7 separate regions of the Homo sapiens genome follow, and all the other regions are linked to region 4. The links are contacts of gene promoters, found by promoter capture Hi-C in blood cells and fetal thymus (Javierre and others, 2016). All regions are on one chromosome and are shown on one strand. The core of a region is centred on a gene start or on the middle of the fragment in contact, and the rest is flanking DNA. Distances in the headings are between cores, read along the strand shown.

The links. The method cuts DNA at HindIII sites, captures the fragments that hold promoters and counts their contacts. A CHiCAGO score of 5 or more calls a contact.
Region 1: a contact is called between a fragment that was not itself captured here and the fragment with the promoter of SNRPB2 in region 4, in 3 of 17 cell types (naive CD4 T cells, naive CD8 T cells and total CD8 T cells). The highest score is 8.5, in naive CD4 T cells.
Region 2: a fragment that was not itself captured here is called in contact with the fragment with the promoter of SNRPB2 in region 4 in 1 of 17 cell types (naive CD4 T cells); the score reaches 6.0 in naive CD4 T cells.
Region 3: a contact is called between a fragment that was not itself captured here and the fragment with the promoter of SNRPB2 in region 4, in 4 of 17 cell types (naive CD8 T cells, non-activated CD4 T cells, total CD4 T cells and 1 more). The highest score is 7.5, in naive CD8 T cells.
Region 5: a contact is called between the fragment with the promoter of XRN2 here and the fragment with the promoter of SNRPB2 in region 4, in 1 of 17 cell types (naive CD8 T cells). The highest score is 8.8, in naive CD8 T cells.
Region 6: a contact is called between a fragment that was not itself captured here and the fragment with the promoter of SNRPB2 in region 4, in 1 of 17 cell types (non-activated CD4 T cells). The highest score is 7.1, in non-activated CD4 T cells.
Region 7: a fragment that was not itself captured here is called in contact with the fragment with the promoter of SNRPB2 in region 4 in 1 of 17 cell types (non-activated CD4 T cells); the score reaches 6.1 in non-activated CD4 T cells.

What each region holds. Positions count from the first base shown.
Region 1 is chr20:21,124,099-21,126,798 of GRCh38, forward strand. KIZ (kizuna centrosomal protein) reads left to right here and starts at 1,984. Exons shown (of 13, transcript NM_018474.6): 1 at 1,984-2,106. The coding sequence starts at 2,018. RefSeq lists enhancers at 1,453-1,552, 2,453-2,502 and a silencer at 1,713-2,292. The HindIII fragment of the contact is 481 bases long and covers 1,080-1,560 here.
Region 2 is chr20:13,239,586-13,242,285 of GRCh38, forward strand. The region is part of intron 1 of ISM1 (isthmin 1); the gene reads left to right. It overlaps ISM1-AS1 (ISM1 antisense RNA 1), which reads right to left and starts at 102. Exons shown (of 3, transcript NR_040043.1): 1 at 1-102. It also overlaps a transcript of TASP1 not described here. The HindIII fragment of the contact is 1,289 bases long and covers 639-1,927 here.
Region 3 is chr20:13,627,766-13,630,465 of GRCh38, forward strand. TASP1 (taspase 1) reads right to left here. Exons shown (of 14, transcript NM_017714.3): 2 at 2,169-2,387. The coding sequence starts at 2,313. Among named protein-coding and RNA genes, the nearest start is that of TASP1, 9.8 kb to the right of the region's middle. The HindIII fragment of the contact is 1,665 bases long and covers 497-2,161 here.
Region 4 is chr20:16,728,704-16,731,403 of GRCh38, forward strand. It overlaps SNRPB2 (small nuclear ribonucleoprotein polypeptide B2), which reads left to right and starts at 1,323. Exons shown (of 7, transcript NM_003092.5): 1 at 1,323-1,461. RefSeq lists enhancers at 434-1,302, 1,361-1,410, 1,461-1,580 and a silencer at 1,731-1,780. The HindIII fragment of the contact is 9,448 bases long and covers 1,060-2,700 here.
Region 5 is chr20:21,301,881-21,304,580 of GRCh38, forward strand. It overlaps XRN2 (5'-3' exoribonuclease 2), which reads left to right and starts at 1,451. Exons shown (of 30, transcript NM_012255.5): 1 at 1,451-1,593. The coding sequence starts at 1,519. RefSeq lists a silencer at 1,149-1,278 and an enhancer at 1,999-2,048. The HindIII fragment of the contact is 6,284 bases long and covers 1-2,700 here.
Region 6 is chr20:20,060,080-20,062,779 of GRCh38, forward strand. The region is part of intron 2 of CFAP61 (cilia and flagella associated protein 61); the gene reads left to right. Among named protein-coding and RNA genes, the nearest start is that of CFAP61, 8.9 kb to the left of the region's middle. The HindIII fragment of the contact is 6,753 bases long and covers 1-2,700 here.
Region 7 is chr20:13,222,985-13,225,684 of GRCh38, forward strand. The region is part of intron 1 of ISM1 (isthmin 1); the gene reads left to right. It also overlaps a transcript of TASP1 not described here. Among named protein-coding and RNA genes, the nearest start is that of ISM1, 3.1 kb to the left of the region's middle. The HindIII fragment of the contact is 1,662 bases long and covers 620-2,281 here.

The DNA of each region.
Region 1 (2,700 bases), core at 70-2,569, 4.4 Mb after region 4:
CTGGGGTGCTCACACACATACACACACATGCTCTTCTAGAACACGTTCTAAGTACCCAACACCCTTACCTTCCCTGCTCAAAGGGGCCCAAGCTGCTTTCTAAGGCTTTAAAAGGCCTCTTGGCTGGGTCTTTCCTGCAAGGGTGACCATCACTGGCATGCTCACTGCCCGGCCAAGAGGAGGCTGAGGTGGGGATGTAGGCAGAGTTGGGACTTGCTGGCTGGAGAAGAGGAGGAGAAGAGGCAGGGCACACACATCCCTGCTAGTGTATGAGACCCCCTCACAAAGCAAGACTGAGCCTGGGGTGGGAAATGGAGTTGGGGGGAGCTGGAGAAGCAGGCAAACTAAATTCCACCCTGGTTGTCCAGGTTCTTAAGAAGGCATATTGGTCAAAGTGGAGAGGAGAACACGTATTTTACCTAAGTTTGTTATCTTGAATTATAATTCAATATTTAGGCGGATGGTATGAGGGCCTCCATTCACACTCTTGCCCTGGAACTGGCAAATGTGAATGGAAGGCTGAGTAAAATCATAGTTTTGTGTTGTTGGCCTTTGAGTGTTCCATCTCTCTTACAATTTTAGTTTGTCACACCTTGCACCTTGTATGTGTAAGTAAAATTAATGGCATAGGAAAGAAACCAAAAGAAGTGAACAATAAGAGACTAAAGAAACTCTACAGGCCGGGCATGGTGGCTCATGCAAGTAATCCTAACACTTTGGGAGGCCAAGGTGGGTGGATCACCTGAGGTTGGGAGTTCAAGACCAGCCTGGCCAACATGGTGAAACCCCGTCTCTCCTTAAAATATAAAAAATACCAAAAAAAACAAAAATTATCTGGGTGTGGTAGCGCACACCTGTAATCCCAGTTATTCAGGAGGCTGAGGCACGAGAATCTTTTGAACCCGGGAGGCAGAGCTTGCAGTGAGCCGAGATCACGCCACTGCACTCCAGCCTGGGCAACAGAGTGAGACTCTGTCTCAAAAAAAAAAAAAAAAAAAAGGAAAGGAAGGCAGAGAAGCAGGCTAAGGCTTAATTTTTCTGCCCAGTGGGTTTTGAAATATGGTTGGCTTCCTTCAGGAAGCTTTTTCCCGACGTTGGTGATGATAATAAAACCTGATGCTTTCTATGTGCTGGGCCCACTTATAAACACTAACACATATTAACAATCGAATCCTAAACTAATCCTGTGTTAACAGCCTCCCACTTTACATATGAGGAAACCTGGGGTGACTTGCACACGGCTTGGCAGCTGGGACGTGGATAGGGAATGTACACCCAGGCAGTCTGGCTCCCGGGCTCCTGCTAGAGGATCCTACAGGACATTAGGAGCATTGTCCCTTAGAGCTGTCTGCACAAACGTCTGCTTCCCAAGCAACTAGTTATCAACTTTTCCCTCTCGCCAACGATACTGGCACCTGGAACAATCCTTAGATTCAGCACGGATTTTCGAGTAAGGGGTTGGTCCACTGTCGGGGCTGAGCACGGCTGTTTAGCATTTGAGGGTTTGTCTTTTTTTACTTGGTGTTTTGTGTCGCTTTTGAGTGCTGATATAATAGAACAAGCTTAGTACAGTGCCTGGCACTCAACAAATCCTGGCAAGAAAGGAGATCGAGGAAAAGAAGCAAGCGAGAGACGAAAGAAAGGGAGGGAATGCGCCTTGTAACATTAACGTAGCTTGTGCGAATCCTGGAAGGTGAGGGGAAAGGAGACACCGCGTCAAGGGAGAGAGGAGAGGGCACCGAGCGCCCGCCCCTCCGACGTGGTCCGCCCCGGCCTCACGACGCCCCGCCTCTGCCACGCCTCTTCCCCGCCCCATGCAGGTCTTCGTCCCGCCCCCCACAAAGCCGGCTTCCGCCCCGTCCCTCAGCGGCGCCCCGCCCCCACGGCGTCTTGCCCCGCCTCCTGCAGGCGGCCCGGCGCGGTGTTTACCCGCGGTGCATGGTGGGGCGGTCTCCTTCGGCAACCCCGGCCGAACGGCCACCCAGAGGCTGTGCTGAGCTGGCGCAGCGGCAGCAGCATGAGCCGGACCCTCGCATCGGCCGTGCCCCTGTCGAGTCCCGACTACTACGAGAGGCTGGGCCAACTCCAGCACGGGCTGCGGGACAGGTAAGGGCACTGGGGCGGGGGTGGGGAGTCGGCCCGCGCCGGGGGTCTTCCGCGTGCCCTGCCCCATTTTCCTTCCCGCTCCCCCGTCCGAGGTTCCCCGGGGCCCAGGCCCGCGCGCAACGCCCCCCAGGCTCCCAGTGGGGCCTGGAGGACAGTGTTTACTAGAGCCACCCCCTGTATTGGGGGTGGGAGCGGAGAGAGGTGAGAGACCGCCCCCGCCCCGTCAATAGCAGCTAAAGCCTGGTCTACGGTTTGAGGATGCGGCCGCGTCACAGAATTTGCCCAGAAGTGAAGGTGGGAGTTCTTCTGCCTGTCACTCTCCATCAAGCCTTGTGAGTTTCTCTTGTCCCCTTTTACACGCCCCCTCCCCACTCTCTTCAAATTGCCATCCCGCCGTGACAGCTGCACTGCATCAATGATGACAAGTCCTGGAACGCAGACGGTTGTGTGTGTGTGTGTCAAACATGTGCCCCCGTTTAAACTCAGGAGACTTTTAGGGGTAGCGAGGGCTGGCTAGATTTCCAGCGAAGGGATGAAATTTCCAGCTAGAGAAGTCCAGCTTCCAGAGGGTTCATGATGCCTTTGATTAAGATA
Region 2 (2,700 bases), core at 33-2,532, 3.5 Mb before region 4:
TCACATACACAAGGGTCACTGCACATGGCTGCAGGAATGCCCAGGTTGGACCGGGGCTTCATCTGTGCTCCAACCCACCTGCACTCCATGGTGAGGCACTCTGTTTAGAAGGCAGGTTGCAGACACTCACCAAATTCTAGAATGTTGTTGTAGGCAAGAAAGCCAAGCCCCAATGTCTCATTTCATTGACAAAGAATCTAAAACCTGGAGAAATTAAAAGATTTGGCTAAGACCATACCATTCATTTATCCTACAGCCAGTACCAGACTCCAAAGCAAGTCATCTTTCATGAAGCCACACAATCCCCCATTTCTGAACATCTGTAAAAGTTTTTATAGCCCCACTTAGCTAAAGAGAATTAGAGTAAGTGTACATCTAAAGTGCTGGGATCCTGCTACATGGTGGTTGCTCTTAGGTTGTTACAGGAGCAGAAAGGTAATTAAATGGACATGAATTGTCTCTTTTATTTAATATACAACCAAACTGCAGTAAGGCAAATGAAATAATGTACATATAAGCATTGAGCACTGCCCAGCCACATGGCATTCTACAATTCCATTCATTCATTCAGCACTTTCATATCGCGTGGCTGTGATCAGCAGATATTGTGCTAGGCACTGGAGATTCAATAGAGAACAAGCTTATGTTCTAGAAAGAAAACTGACAATAATTGATTCAGAATAAAGGAATTATTATAGATTGTGATAGGTGCTTAGCAGGACATAAACAGGGAGCAAAAGATAGGGAATAACTGGGAGTTCCTACTAAAAGAGGGTGGTCAAGGAAGGACTTGATGGAAAAGTGACACTTGAGTCCTGAGCTGGGGGAATAAAAGGACCAGCTCTGCAAAGAACTCAGGAGAGCCAGTCAGGCAGACGGAATCACAAACACCAAAGCCTTGAGATAGGAAGGACTTTGGCATGACTAAGGGATGGAAAAGAGACTGGAGAACAGTGTGTAAGGAAGAAAGTGGCACATGAACTTGCAGAAAAAAGCAAGGATTTTGCAGGTCATGATAAAGAATATGGCTGTTCTAGGATTGGTGAGGAAGCAGCCATTGAAGAGCTTCTAAATGATGGCTCCATCTGATCAGTGGATAATGAGAGGGAAGAACATAGATATGTTAGAAAATTTCACAATAATTCAGGTAAGAGGTGATGGGATGTGGACCAGGGTAGAGAAGAGTGGATGGATGCAAGGCACAGTTCTGAGACAGAGCCAACAGGATATGCTGTTGGATTGCATTTCAGAGTTAAGAAGTGAAGAGTCAAAGACAGCTTCCAGTTTCACAAGGGTAGAGTTCATGTCAGTGGATTTATATGGGACATGTGGAATATGAGATGCCTCTGGGACATGTAAGTGAAGATAATAGCAGGGAGGCTGTGAAGTGGACAGGGAGCTGAGAGTGAGGTGTCATGATGAAAGTGGTAAAAGGAGAACCAAGAGGTGTGTCACAGAAGCCAGGGGAGAAGAATGCCTTAAGGAGAGAGGACTTCTATCGAATGCTGCTGTGAGAACAAAAAAGATGAGGCCAGAGAAGTGCTCATTCAACTGGGCAACGCAGCCATGACTGGTGACCTGAATGAGGTCACCAACTGCTCTGCAGTTGCAGAGGCATCATGGGAACAGACTCCAGTGTCTATTGGGTAAAGGAACAAATGGAAGGTGAGGAAATGGAGACAGAATATACAAATAAGTCTTGCAAAAGTTTTACTATAAAAAGGGGAGATATATGAACATGTGGTCAAAAAAGAGTTTTTGGTTCATGTAAGATCAGAGATACCAGGGCATCTGTGAGGCTGATGAGAACGATCCAATAGAAAGGGAGAGATTGATGATGCAAAACTGAGAGAGGAGAAATGAGGAGTGAATTCTTCAAGAAGGCAAGGGGCTATGTGTGAGCATTGGCCTTTCACAGAAGCAGGAAAGCTTGTTCTGTGTAACAATTGGGAAGAGAAAGAAAATGAGCTATGCAGACAGGAGTATAAATAGAGTGATGGTAATAAAAGAGTTACCATCTCATGACTCCTGTTCCATCAGTGAAATATGAAGTGAGGGCAGGAGCACAAGTAGGACGTTTGAGGAGAGAAGATATAAAATGGTCATCTTGGATACTGGAGCAAGTAAGGTTGTGAAGGAAGGGCAGTTGGATTTTGGAACAGTGCTTAGTATTCATTTGAGGGTTTGAGGACATGAATCTAAAATAAAGCAAGTTTGTCAAGTTGGATGCTTTTATTGTTCCCATCACCCACCTGCTTGGCTACTAACCTACAGAAGTTGGATCACTGAGTTCAACCAAAATGGAGGTGTTGCCAGTCAAATATATAAGGAGAAGAGAAAGGGGCAAGCAGAGTTGAGGGCCGTTGCAAGGAAATGATTAAAATAAAAGAACACTTGTTGAAGAAGGAAAGTAAAAACAAGAGAAGGCTGAAGGGAGGTGAGAAAATGGCAGTGGCTTGGAGATCTCAATGAGTTTTAAAACTGGAAAAATGAGTTAAAAGAATGGAAAGTGTCTTTATGTAGAAGGTTTACTGACAAAAGGTCTAGGGAAGAGGGTGGTTGAGATGCAGTAGAGGGAAAGGGTATGGGAGGTGAGGAGGTCCAAGAACTGGGGAGGTCATCTACATGGATGTTGAAGTCACCAAAAAGGACAACAGGAGGTCAATGGTAAAGAAGACTAAGCCAGAAGCTGGGCTTTTA
Region 3 (2,700 bases), core at 79-2,578, 3.1 Mb before region 4:
ATTCTGAGCCTTGAAAGGAATGTGGCTATGCACCCTGAGTCACACAACATGCAGCTGCAACTTTTGCCTTTTTCCTGTAAATAATTAGGAAGACCAAACAACACCAGAGATAAGACCCTCTCAGATCACTGCCCCTTCTCACAAAGTAAAAAGTAATCTTCCTTAGGATGTAGCAATCTATAACCAATCAAATTGCTGTAACTTATGCACTGGTCTCCTACGGAAAATGTTACCATCCTGCTAAAATTTTTCTATCTCTACCTACATAAATGAAAACTTAACTTCTCCACTTTGGAACACAGACCCCATTTGTTTGGAGTCAGTGTTTCCCAGGTGGACATCCTCAAGCTTTGTGCATGAATAAGCTCTACCTTTAATCATAGCTTCTGAATTCCATTATTTAAGGTTGGCAGAGCCATTATCATCTAGTCTGTGTCTAAGACAGGAGGGACAGGGTCATAATAGTTATAGAAAGTAAGGCTTTCCAACTAATTGAAGCTTTATGTTATTGCTTGTTACAACTTTCAGACCTTTCTTTTACACTTTCCAAACACTCACTCTGAATACGGTAACTCACTGGTATCATGGAAGATAATGGAAGATGTACCATCAACATAGTGTAGTGGAAAGAACACAGACTAGGAGTCTGAAGGCAGAAGCTCTAGTCCCAGGTCTACTTTTAACTGGATTATTTCTGTAAATTTACCTCACCTCCTTGTAAAAGCACCTGTGAGAAAATGGGATTAAACCTGGTTTCTGGTTTTTTGGATTTGTTTAGATACTCTGGATTAGATTCACATAAGGCTTCTCGGGTTGTCCAGTCTAGATATGGCCAAACGTTAATGGCCAGGCAGGACACCAGTCTCACAAGAAGAAACATTTCTACTCCTCATTCCATATCAAAGTTAATCCTGCTGTCATCTTGCTTGACTACCCAGGGAAAGTTAAAAGGAAACCCAGACATTCTTTCTCTCTTCATGGAGGTCATGGAAAGTAGACTCTGAATACAAGAAAATAAAAATGGCCAAAGGAAAAAGAGCCTGCTGAGGAAACCTGGGCAGAGCAGCACTGTTCTGCAACCCAAGACCTTTTAAAGATGGGAGGCCCAGGGGATGAACTCCACTGTGTCTGTCCTCATGGTCCTCTGAAGTAGAAAGATCACAGGCTGACACAGCATCAAAAGCACTAGACTGAGACATAAGGGCCTACTTAGGTGTTTCTTACACTGGCTCTAGCACCAACCACCAGTGTCTGAAGTCTCTTAAGTCACTTAATCTCTCTGGTCTTAAGGTTCCTCACTTAAAATATTAAGAGGGTGGGCCGGGTGTGGTGGCTTACGCCTGTAATCCCAGCACTTTGGGAGGCCAAGGCAGGTGGATCACCCGAGGTCAGGAGTTTGAGACCCACCTGGCCAATATGGTGAAACCCCATCTACTAAAAATACAAAAATTAGCCAGACGTGATGGTGGACGTCTGTAATCCCAGCTACTCAAGAGGCTGAGGCAGGTGAATTGCTTGAACTTGGGAGGTGGAGGCTGCAGTGAGCCAAGATCACACCATTGCATTCCAACCTGGGCGACAAGAGTAAAACTCCATCTCAAAAAAAAAAAAAAAAAAGAAGGTGAACCAGCTCAAAGATTGTGTAATAATTATGCCCTAAGATACCCACAGTCTCACATGGGAATCAATACAATTTTTTCAGCAATATTTTATTTTATTTTATTGAGATGGTGTCTCGGTTTGTTGCCCAGGCTGGAGCGCAGTGGCATGATGTCGGCTCACTGCAACCTCCACCTCCTGGGTTCAAGCAATTCTCCTGCCTCAGCCTCCCACAGCAACATTATTTTTAAAAAACATAAACCAGAGTTCAAAAATTACTTTGTCTGGTTTTAATACTACCTAACCTAAATACATCTATTACATAGAGTTAAAGTAAATAATAGGTTAGGGAAGTGAAAACCTAGGAAGAGCTGCCATTCTAAGATCTTCTAACTGGGGAGTAAAGAGGGAGGTCCTCACTATATCCAAGTCAAACAATCGCTTTGCTTCCAATTCCTCTCTGGCAGTTTTGCCTCCTCCAAGTGTGAAATGTGATTCTCAGTGTACTTCAAGGCAGAAAAAGAAAAATCAACATTATTGGCATCTTCCAAGCCATCCACAAAGCTTACCTGCATGCACCAACACAAAGCCTCCTCGTTTCTCTTTATAGGACTGCTTTGTTTCCAACTCTTTGGCTGTTATTTTACCAGCCGAAACCTGAGATGATCTGGAAGGCAGCCCTTCTCCAGAACTCATCCCCTTCTCCATGGTCATTCTCCAAGATTACCATCTTCTACTGAGAAAGGGGCATACTTCCATCCAAAAGTAATTGCAGGAGAGGAATTACCCTAAAGGAAAACAGGCAAAGATGGTATACATTTCTTTCCACCAACACATAAGTTACTTACACAAATTCATGCAAAGATAATGTTCAAAAATCCTATTTTTAAGTTATTTAATTGAGCAATACAAAAAAGGTATCAAAGCTATTTATTAAAATTATTTTTTCTTATTCCCATTGAAGTCGGATAAAATTATTTAATTGGGTAATATAAAAAGGTTAGAATTTAAATCTCTCTGTCCACTGATAGTACCTGCTTAGGGGCGAGCGCAGTGGCTTACACCTGTAATCCCAGCACTTTGGGAGGCTGAGGCGGGTGG
Region 4 (2,700 bases), core at 73-2,572:
TAATAAAACGATGCTTTTCTGTGATCCCTTAACATTCTCTACACTCAGGTGCATGTTCAAAGCATATTTGTTTTACTGTTGCCTAGTTTTCCATGTCATTCATTGAATTATCCAATGCATATTAATTATCAGTCACTTTTCCCATTACTAAGGGTACTTGAGTGAACAGAGCAGACAAAAACCCCACCCTTAAAAAGCTTATATTATTTTCAAGTTGTTGCAACTTTGGGTGTTTTTAAAAAATAAAAATTCCCAGCTGATAAAACCAACTTATTTGACAGCTACCTGCCTCACCAGTAGAACCAAGTTATAGCCAGAATTCAGAAATAACATTTTTGAGCATTTATTGTGTCTGACAATGTGCCAATCACTTTACATTTATTTTAGCTCATTTAATGCTTACAACAACTAGAAGGAGGTACTATTAGGATCCCTATTTTACAGATGAAAAAAGTGAAGGTCAGAGAGATTAGTTAAGCAGAGGGTACAAGATTAGGTTCCAGTTGACTCTTAACAACCATTTCATATTCCAGGTGATGCTTTACAGACATCTGATGAATGGATGGATGAATGAATGCATGCACTTTGGGAACTCCCATTCAGCTTGGCATAAATACTAACTCCTTAGAATACCCTAGAAAAATCTAGACCTTTTGTTGGAAGAAAAGAGTGGGAAGGGTGGTAGGGAATTATTTTTTCGAGTGAATTGAGGCAGATGATCTTACAGATGACTGGGTTCTAGTCAGCATGGTTGCCTTATCTGGTGAGAGATGAGAATTGGGCAGACACCAGTTCTGTCTGCCCTGGGCCCTCAAACTGAGTAGCCTCTGAGATTCAAGTTCATCAGCACAGTGTTGGAGGACAGTTCCTGCAGAGCCCCATGAATCAGAGGAGACTCGGAGGCAGGAGGAACTGGCTATCCTAAAGGTGATTTTAAACCGGGGTAGCTAGAGCCCAAAGAAGGGCGAAACCAGGACTAACTGCCCCATAGCATGAGGGGCAGCGCCTGTAAAATTACATAGGATTTGTAAAGGTGGAAGGCACTGTTGCGCCGGGTAAAGCTTCGCAAGGTCGTGGTAGGGGAAATGATTCACTCCCCTTCACTATTCCCTCGCAGCATGGTCCTCACAACCCCCTTCTCTTTCCCCATTTCCATTTCCGGACTCTTCTCCTGCCCGCAGGGCAGACGCACGCGCAGAGAGATTGCCAGCCCTGGCTGCCAGAGACCCGGAAGCATCGATCGGCTCTGTGCTCGGCTTCTAGACTTGTCGGCGCTCGATTGAGGAGCGTGGCTACGTTGCTTCCGGTGCCTGGCTCCGTTTCCTGCTTTTGGTTCTTACAGTAGTCGGCGTAGGCCTTAGGTGGGTTCGTGCGCCTTCTACCTCGCTGTTTCGGTTTTCCTGGCTCCTCGGCCCTTTTCTCCCCTGTTGCAGCTGGGAGCGGACGAAGCGCGAAGCTGGGGTGGGTACGCGTTTGGCCCGGGTTTGGATCTCGGAGGGGCAGGCTTGGGGGTGAGGAGACTGACTCTGGGGCCGGGCATCGCGTGGCAGCTCCCTTGGACTTCGTTAGGGGGCCTTGGGCGAAGGTGCTTGTGTCTGGAGAGGCGGGAGGCTTGCGCGTACGAAGTAAAGGATAGTTAATGTCAGTCTGCTCGTGCGAGGCGTGGACAGTTCACTGCGCTTTCAGGTGTCTTCCAGCGGCTCCCTTTTGGTGGTGGCGGGTAATTCAGGGTGTCCCTGTAACAACGCAGCCCACGATCAAACCTCGCATGAAACCCTGCAAGAGCCTCCCCTTTGTCCCCCTACCTTCACTTTGACCTCTGCCTCAGTCACTTCCCTTTCGTCGTCTCCTTTGCGACCCCTGCCCCTTCTCCAGATTTCGATTTAGGGGGTCGCAAGGCTTTGAGAAGCGTTACGTTTTACCTGTTACCTGCACAAGTGCAGCCCCTGCTTGTAGGCTCTTCCCTTGTCAATCATCCAATGCAGTTCACATACAGTGGATGCTCTGTAAATACTGTGAGATAAAGGAATATGTGGGGCACACAAGGAAATCATCCAAGTTCACAATTTGCAAGTAAAAACCATGTAAAAAATGCAATAGTGTGGTATATGAGGAAGACAAGTGTAGAGGAGAAAGCAAGGGCTGAATTTCCAGGCCTGATGCTTATTAGCTGTGTGACCTTAGGCAAGTTCCTTACCTGGTAATAGCTGTTAATAATAGCTACTCTTAAGTGTTTACCGCTGATGCAGAACTGTGCTAGAATTCATTTAGTCTTCTGAGTTCTATTGGGTAGGTTCTGTTACCATTCTTATTTTACTGATGAGGACCTGAGAGGTTAAGGAACTTCCCTCAGGCAAACAGCTAGTAAGAAGCATAAATAGGATTTGAATTCACATCTGGCTGATACTGGAATCTGAGTTTAATCGTCATGCCACACTGCTGTCATTGAGCTCCTTTCTTTCAAGTCGGTTAGAGATAACCTTGGAGTCCAGACAGCTTGGTGATGCTGTATACAAATTAATAGGTATGGAAGGACTTTGTAAGTGCACCCATTAAGTAGTTGGCAAACTTCATTAATGTCTAACCTTATGATTTTTACTGGATGTACATTTGCTACTTTGGTCATTTTTCTTCAAATCTACATTTTAAAATTATTTCATTGAGGAGGTGGAAAGAAAATGTCACGTGTCATAAGTGAAA
Region 5 (2,700 bases), core at 201-2,700, 4.6 Mb after region 4:
GATCTTGCCACTGCACTCCAGCCTGGATGACTGAGACTCCGTCTGAAAAAACAAAAACAAAACAATAAACCCTCCCAACCCGCCAAAATGCTGGTTAAGGATTCTAAATGGCTCAACTTGGCCAGCTGTCTATCCCTGAACTGCCTATGGTGTACATGTTCCTATAACAGCACCTCCCAGGGAAACCAGAGGGGCTGCTTCCAGGTAAAAGGAGGAATTTCACCATAGACATAATACTTTGGAATAGTTTTGGCTATCCTTAAGTAAAACACGGGATGACTATTTCTCTAATTTCCACACTAGTAGTTTAAACAAAGTAGTCATCAGACCACAGAGGAGGGGGCAATAAATACTGCCTGTGAGGTAACTCGGCGAAATACTTTCACAGAGGCCTCATGAGGTGAGCATTTAGCATCGTGTGTGATGTGTGTCAAACCAAGAGGGGATTCAGGGAGACTTCCAGGCTTGAGCAAACGGACAAATATACCTCCTCTTCCAGACCTCTCCTTTCATATGGAAAAAATTCGTTTGGGACCACCAGAAAACAAAAGATAAAAGTATCGTGTTAGAACAAGGATGGATTAAAAATGACCTTTGCTTGAACTGAAACAGAAGCTATGTGCATAAGTGACTTAACTCCTCTGTAACTTGGCTTTCTTATCATTTACACGAGGGTGCTAACAGTACCCTCACAAGGTTCAAGTGAAGATTACATAGGACAATCCCTTAGTCAATGTCTTGGTACACTGTAAAGGCTCAGTAAATGCTGGAAAATCATATTAGCAACTATTTTATACCCGTAATTGTAGCTGGAAGATTGTATTGGATGCTAAATACCGGCTAGATTCCATTCGGTAACTATCATAATTATTTATTTGCATAACAATCAAATTATTGGTGCAAAGCAGCCATTATTACTGTAAAATGCTTTAAAATGCTCCTTTTGATAGTCCAGGTACGTACTGCAGCACAAAACTAGGAGAAACCAGGAAATGGAAGTAACGAGTAAGTTTGGATGCTTCGATTCTACCCTAGATTGAGACGGGTGAGCATAGAGGCAAAAAAAGACATTTTCTTCCAAACAAGAGGTGACCAAACGGGCAAGGGAGACCTCCTCCCGGGCATGCAGAGCGCAGCGATTCTGTGCCCAGGGAGCCGGAGGGCTGGGGCTGGGAGATCCCGGCGGAGCCCCGGCAGAGCAGTCGCCCGTGAGCCCCCGCAACTCAGACGCGCTCGGCCTCGCGCTCCGGGGCTGGGACCACCGAGGGCGAGCTGCAGCCTTCGCCACCCGGTCCGCCGCCGGACTCCGCCTCCCACAAACAGCCCGGCAAGGCCCTTTTCCGCCGCTCCCTCATCCAGCGAAGCCTCCTTCCCAGCTTCCCCGGCGGCGGCGCCGTGACGTCACTTCCGTTCTCCAGCGCGCACGTGGGAGGAAGTGCTGGTGCCCTCTGCCGCTGCTCCCGTCTCTTTGGTTACGCTCGTCAGCCGGTCGGCCGCCGCCTCCAGCCGTGTGCCGCTATGGGAGTCCCGGCGTTCTTCCGCTGGCTCAGCCGCAAGTACCCGTCCATCATAGTCAACTGCGTGGAAGAGAAGGTGAGGAGGCGCCAGGCGGCCGCCACACTCGAGCCCGGGCCCCCGGCACGTCTAGGCCGCGGCCCATGGGCTCCGCCGCCTGCCCCCGGGGAGCCTTGCCGGAGCTCGCGCCCTGCTGCCAGCCTCGCGAGCAGTCGCAGCCCCACACGCGATGGGACGCGGGCTGTGGGATTCAGCACCCCGGGGGCGAGGAATTCAGGACCCTCGGCGGGGCAAGGGCCTATAGGGTTCCGAACTCGCAGGAGGGTCGCTCCTCCCCTACTCGCTTTTTCCCGGCACCGGAAGGCCCCGCCCACTGCTTTGTTTCCTCTCCAGACCGCGCATTTTGGGTCTCGGAAGAGGTTCAGAGGCTGTTGTTGAGCAATGCATGCCAGGTCAGCTGAGCTAGCGGGTTATGGATGCACGGATTCGGAGGCCAGCTTTTTGACAACCTTGTAAAGGAATCCCTGGCGGCGACCTTTTCGTTGTTTACCAATTGTGCCGGAAAGGTTTTCTCCTAGTGTTCAGGACCATTTGTTGTTCTGGTTAGATTGGACGCTGAAAGCAGTATGTCAGGTCCAGGATGAGCGCTATAGAATTCTGAGAAGTTACCCTTCTCTGTGTGCCCTGACTACTGAACGGGGTGGGTGCTTGTTGAAAATTTCAAGATTACTGGATGTACTTGAGCAGTACAATTTTTGTTGTTAGTTAATACGTAAGTAGATTTTTGGCCATTATTGAGTTTTGTTTTTATTGTTTTCGTCATTCCATGCGGATTCGATTTTGTGCTCTTAATTAGAATTTCTGGATTGGAAACGTTCAGAGGCACATCACGCGTACCTCACTCCTTAGTTTTTGAAGGCAGTGCTTGCCTGTCACTGTGAACTTATTTCTGCTTTTTTTTTTTTTTTTAACTTTCTTGGCTTCTATCCAAGGAGGAACCAAAAGCCTTGTCTTAGTGACATTCCCACTATTTCTTGTTTTTTTCAAAAAGCAACTGCTAAATTGAATACTTGTTTCCTTTGTAAAATTTTAATCGAACTTTATTGAACTTTACTTGCACGTGGGTTAAACAAAAAGCAACAGTTCTTGCTCTACCCCTTCTCATCCCATTTCTCCACCTTTAAC
Region 6 (2,700 bases), core at 133-2,632, 3.3 Mb after region 4:
AAAAAAAAAACCAAGTTACCTGCAAAGAACTAAAGATTAGACTAATAGATTTCTTAGGAGCCACAATAGTAGTCAGAAGATAGTAGAATATCTTCAATAGTGGAGAGAAAAATAACATCAATTTAGAATTGTGACATTGTTTCACCCAGTGAAACAATTCCTAGGGGACCTGGGAGAAAATAAATGCATTTTCTGACAAACAAAAACCTAAGTCATTTGCCAATAAACTCTGAATGGAGGAAATTCCTCAGAATATGTTTTTGGAGGAACAGAGAATACCTCAGCTGGAAAGCTCAAAACACAAGAAGGAATGTCAACAAAAATATGGAAAATATATAGGTAAATCTAAGAAAAAGTATGACTTGCATAAAACAATAATATTGATAATGACTGATTTGTGAGGTATAAACCATATGTTAAAACTAAGATTCAGGACAAAAACATTATATAAATTGGGAGGAGCATGATTAGAATGAAAGAATCCTTCAGGTTTTATTTAAGATGGAGGGTGTGGTAAGTGGTGTGCAAACAGGCTCCCCTGGCTCCAATGAGCCACACATCCTGTCACTTACGCCTTTGTGTAGTCTGTTCTCACAAAGAATCATGGCTCGCCTTATGCAGCCAATGGAAAGCAGCAGAAGTGAGACTCTATTTGACTTCAAGTCTAAGTCATAAGAAGTCTTGCAACTTCCACTGGGTCTCCGGAAGTGCTCCTTCTCAGAACCCAGTGCCACACTGATGAAAGCTCCAGTCACATGTTTCCCTGTGGGTGCTTCATTTGACAGCCTCTGCTGAGCTCCCCGCTAGCAACTGCCACCAGCTGCCAACCATGCAAGTAAGCCGTCTTAGACACTGAGTCTTCAGATGGCTTTAGCCACTGCTGCCATTTGATAGCCTGAGATACCGTGCAAAAACTGCTTAGTTCAACCCAGGCAGCCCACAGAACCATGAGAGATAATAATTGCTACTTAAAGCCACTGAGGTTTGGGGTGGTTTATTACACATCAGTTGATAACTGGAACAGATAATAAAGACTGTTAGGAATATATATTAACATGGTTAAGATCATCATTAAAAGAACAGGTGTAGAGATGATAACTTCTGATCTATAGAGGGAAAAATGGAATGAGAAATTTAAAATGAACCCTGAATCTAAAAGAGGACAAGACAGGAGGAGGAAAAAAGAAACAAAAAGCATAGAATGTATTAAAATTACAGAATAAGAAAATAAATTTTACTATATCAGCAATCATAATAAATGCATCTGGACAAAAATCTTCCATTAAAAGATTAAGAATGGCAGATTGGCTCAAAACAAAACAGTCATATTCTATTTGTGAGACATACCTCATATATAAAGTCACAGAAATATTTAAAGTCAAAGTATCAGGAAAAAAGATATGCCACCCAAAATCTCACCCAAAATAAGGGCTAGTATTGCTATATCAACAGCAGACAGTGTATAGTTCAGGACAAAAAGCTCCCTACAGATAAAGAGGGTCACTATATAATGATAAAACTGTTGTTGGGAGAGCTATGACAGCTTTAAACTTATATGCTTCTAACAACACAGTTCTAAAATAGATAAAAGTGAAAATCACAGGTAGAGCACTGGAGACTCTCCCGCCTCCCTGTGTTCCCCATGCCTTTTTGTGCCATTCTCCCTGCTGTAGTCCCCATGTTTTCTATCTTTGTTGAGCCTGTGATTCCCCTGACAGAATGTAATGGAAGTGGGGCTGTCCTGGTCCCAGGCCCAAGCGTTAAGATGGCCTGGCAGCAGGGCTGGCCCAGGAGAGGCACGCAGGGTATCCTGGGTACTCACTCCCAGCTAGGGCCCCTGCATGAACCTGAGAGTGAACACCTCCTTCCATTTTTGAACCCTGGGTCCCTCTGGCCTCACCCTAGTTCGAGCCTTTGCTGGGAGCTTTCAGTTTTGTGATCTTGGGAGCCTTGCACTACCATGTAAAAAGTCTGGCTACTCTACTGGACATACCACCCAGAGAGGCCATATCGTAAGAGAGAAGTGTGTGCCTACATGGAGGAGAATTGAGGAGCCCAGCCTCCAGCAAGAAGGAAGGCCCCATGTCACTCTTCCAGGCACACCCCAGCCCCTTTGGGCCACCCTCACTGAGGCACAAGACACATGAGGGAAAAAAACCGTCTTGGAGGTTCTTGCCCCAACAGATACCCCTACTGTACCCTGTCTGAATCTCTCACCCATAGAATCATGAGCAAATAAAACAGAGTAGCCACTAAATTTGGGATAATCTGTTATGCAGAAATAGTTGAACAAAATAGCAGGTCTTAGAGGGAACTTATAACCTTAAATGCTTATAACAGAAGAGAAGAAAGGCCTGAAATAAAGTTCAGAGTTTACCTCTAAGAGCAAGAACAGTCGAATCAACTCAAGGAAAACAGAAAATAAAGGACAAGAGCGCATATTAATGAAACAGGAAACAAGCATCTGGTAGAGGATAAACAAAGCCAAAAGTTTGTTCTTTAAAAAGCCTAAAGAAAAAAAAAATCTGACAAGATTAATCAGGAAAAAAAGAAAAACTTTCAAAGTAATGTGAAAAGGACATAATCACAAATGTTGCTGAGGTTAAGCAGGTAATAAAAGGGCATTATAGATCCACAATCCTTTAACTAAATCCCTCGTGACTAGTTGTGTTTCAGAAAGCAGAATTTAAAAAATTAGTT
Region 7 (2,700 bases), core at 201-2,700, 3.5 Mb before region 4:
AAACCCCGTCTCTACTAAAAATACAAAAATTAGCTGGGCGTGGTGGCGCACGCCTGTAGTCCCAGTTACTCGGGAGGCTGAGGCAGGAGAATTGCTTGAACCCGGGAGGTTGTAGTGAGCTGAGATCGCGCCACTGCACTCCAGCCTGGGCGACAGAGCGAGACTCCGTCTCAAAAAAAAAATAAAATAAAATAAAATAAAATAAAATAAATAAATAAATAAATAAAATGAAATAAGCATTATTCATTGTTCCCAAAGGCCTTTATATTCATTGTCTTTGATAATTCACTTTTTACATCTTTATACAATTTATTGCGAAAAACTTTACCGTAAAGAGAAAACTAATAAAACACTTCCATTGTGTTTACTACGTGCCACCGTTTTAAGTACTTTACAGAATTTAACTCACTTAATTTAACCATAATCTTACAAGACATGGTACTGTTAATATAGCCTCATTTACAGATGCAAAAACTGAGGTACAGAGAGGTTAAAAAACTTGTCAAAGTTCAGACATTCCAAACTCTTGATTACACCAAATTTTGTCTCTACCAGGATAGACTAAAGCAAGGTGATTATTGCACGCAATTACAAAACAGTAGAAAAGTACACACCCCAAAGCTTAAAGTTGTTTTAACTTTGAGACATTTCTAAAAATGTCCTAACTTTGTGGGTTCTCTCACCTTCTCCCGTGGGTAGATAAGTACAGTGACAGACTGAGGGAATTTCTATGCGGAAGTTGAAGATGCCACCATCCTATAGACTGGGGCACCCACCAATCTAACACTGCGGAGATAATTCTTAATATCTTCAAGATTTCTGGAAGTTATATTTTATACATGATGCTTTCTTTCCTCATGGACTCATGAAAAGCCATAAAAATGATGTTCTGTGGAAAAGTAAATTTGGCAGATTACTTTATGAGGTGTTTGCTATCATTAGAATAACCCGGGGTTGGCCTTTTCCGCTTGAACAGTAAGGTAATGAGAGAAGCAGCTGGTGGAAGTGGCAGTTCTAAAAGGGAAGTGGACTGAATTCTCAAAAGGGGCTTTGGCTGAAGAACTGCCCCAAGAGGACACAACAAATGGGGGATTTAGAAAGAGTTATGCTCCTAGAAATATCTTGAGTCCCAAGTAGCTGCTAATCCACCAGCTTCAGCTTATCTTGTAATAGTGTTCGGTGAGACTGTCCACTCAATGCACACACTTTTCCAAGCAGAATGATGAGTTTAGCAGTTTAGTTCATAATTTTGCTGTTTTGTAATTTGTTATTATAAAAGTTTTATACTCTTCCTGACCAAAGTTATTTCTTTGGCCCTCTGACTCTCTGAAGGTATTATAAGTCAAAAGAAGAATGTTCTGCCAAATGAGGAGGTCTGCAAAAGACATTTATTAGTCCATCGTTTTCAGGCCCCAGAAAGTGAATTTGCTAGTAGCAGGTGTATTTGAAGACAAAACTGTGGACACTGTATTCTTTCTTTTTACCAGACATTTTAAACCCAAGTCTTAAACATCATCTAAATTTGTTGGTTCTGTGCTATCCTGAGCTACTAAAATCCTTCTTCACAATCAGAAAATTAATCAATCCATATACATCATTTTTATTGTTTTTATCTCTGTGTACAACCTTCTAAAATATAAGGTTGTCTTAGTCAGAAATATGCAATGGTGAGTTTATTTACCTGAATTGTAGTATGTTTGTATTCACTTAAAAAGGGACACATTCTTATTTAAGGATATATCAAGGACGCCCAATAAAGTAGTAGTAAGAAAAGCAACAATAATAGTTAAGATTTATTAAGTGCCTTTTATGTGGCAGGCACTGTTCTTAGCACTTTACACATACTAGCTTTCTTTCTTTTTTTTTTTTTTTTTTTTTTGAGACGCAGTCTTGCTCTGTCGCCCAGGCTGGAGTGCAGTGGCGCGATCTCTGCTCACTGCAACCTCCACTTCCCGGGTTCATGCCATTCTCCTGCCTCAGCCTCCCAAGTAGCTGGGACTACAGGCGCCTGCCACCACGCCCGGCTAATTTTTTTTTTTTTTGTATTTTTAGTAGAGACGGGGTTTCACCGTGTTAGCCAGGATGGTCTCACTCTCCTGACCTCATGATCCGCCCGCCTTGGCCTCCCAAAGTGCTGGGATTACAGGCGTGAGCCACCGCGCCCGGCCCATACTAGCTTTCTTAATCCTCACAAAAATCCCGGGAATTAGGTGCTATCATTATCCCTGTTTCAAAAGGAGAAACTGAGGTTAGGTAATTTGCCCAAGGTTGCACAGCTAGAAGCTTCTTCATTTATTTTCGTTATTTTATAGTGGGGAGCTATTTGAAGCATATTTCTACTGCAAGTTCTTGATAAAGTCATACACTCAAGAGAGAGAAAGGCTTTTAACAATTTACATTTTCAAATGTATCTTGACAGTCTTACTGTGTTAACTATGACATATATGTATATATACACATACATTATATATACATAATACACATATATGTATAAATGTTATCTAACTTTTTTTGTAGTTTCAGCGCACTAGGGGTTACATTTTTGACTCTTTGTATGACTGTCTCCCCTAGTATGCCCTAGTGTGCTCAAAACATTAATAGGTACGATGTTACAAGGTGGCAGTAAAAAGTTTTGAGTACACTCTCCATATTGGGTAACTGGCTGATGAAAATAAAAATGTTAGTCTTTGAATGGTTGTC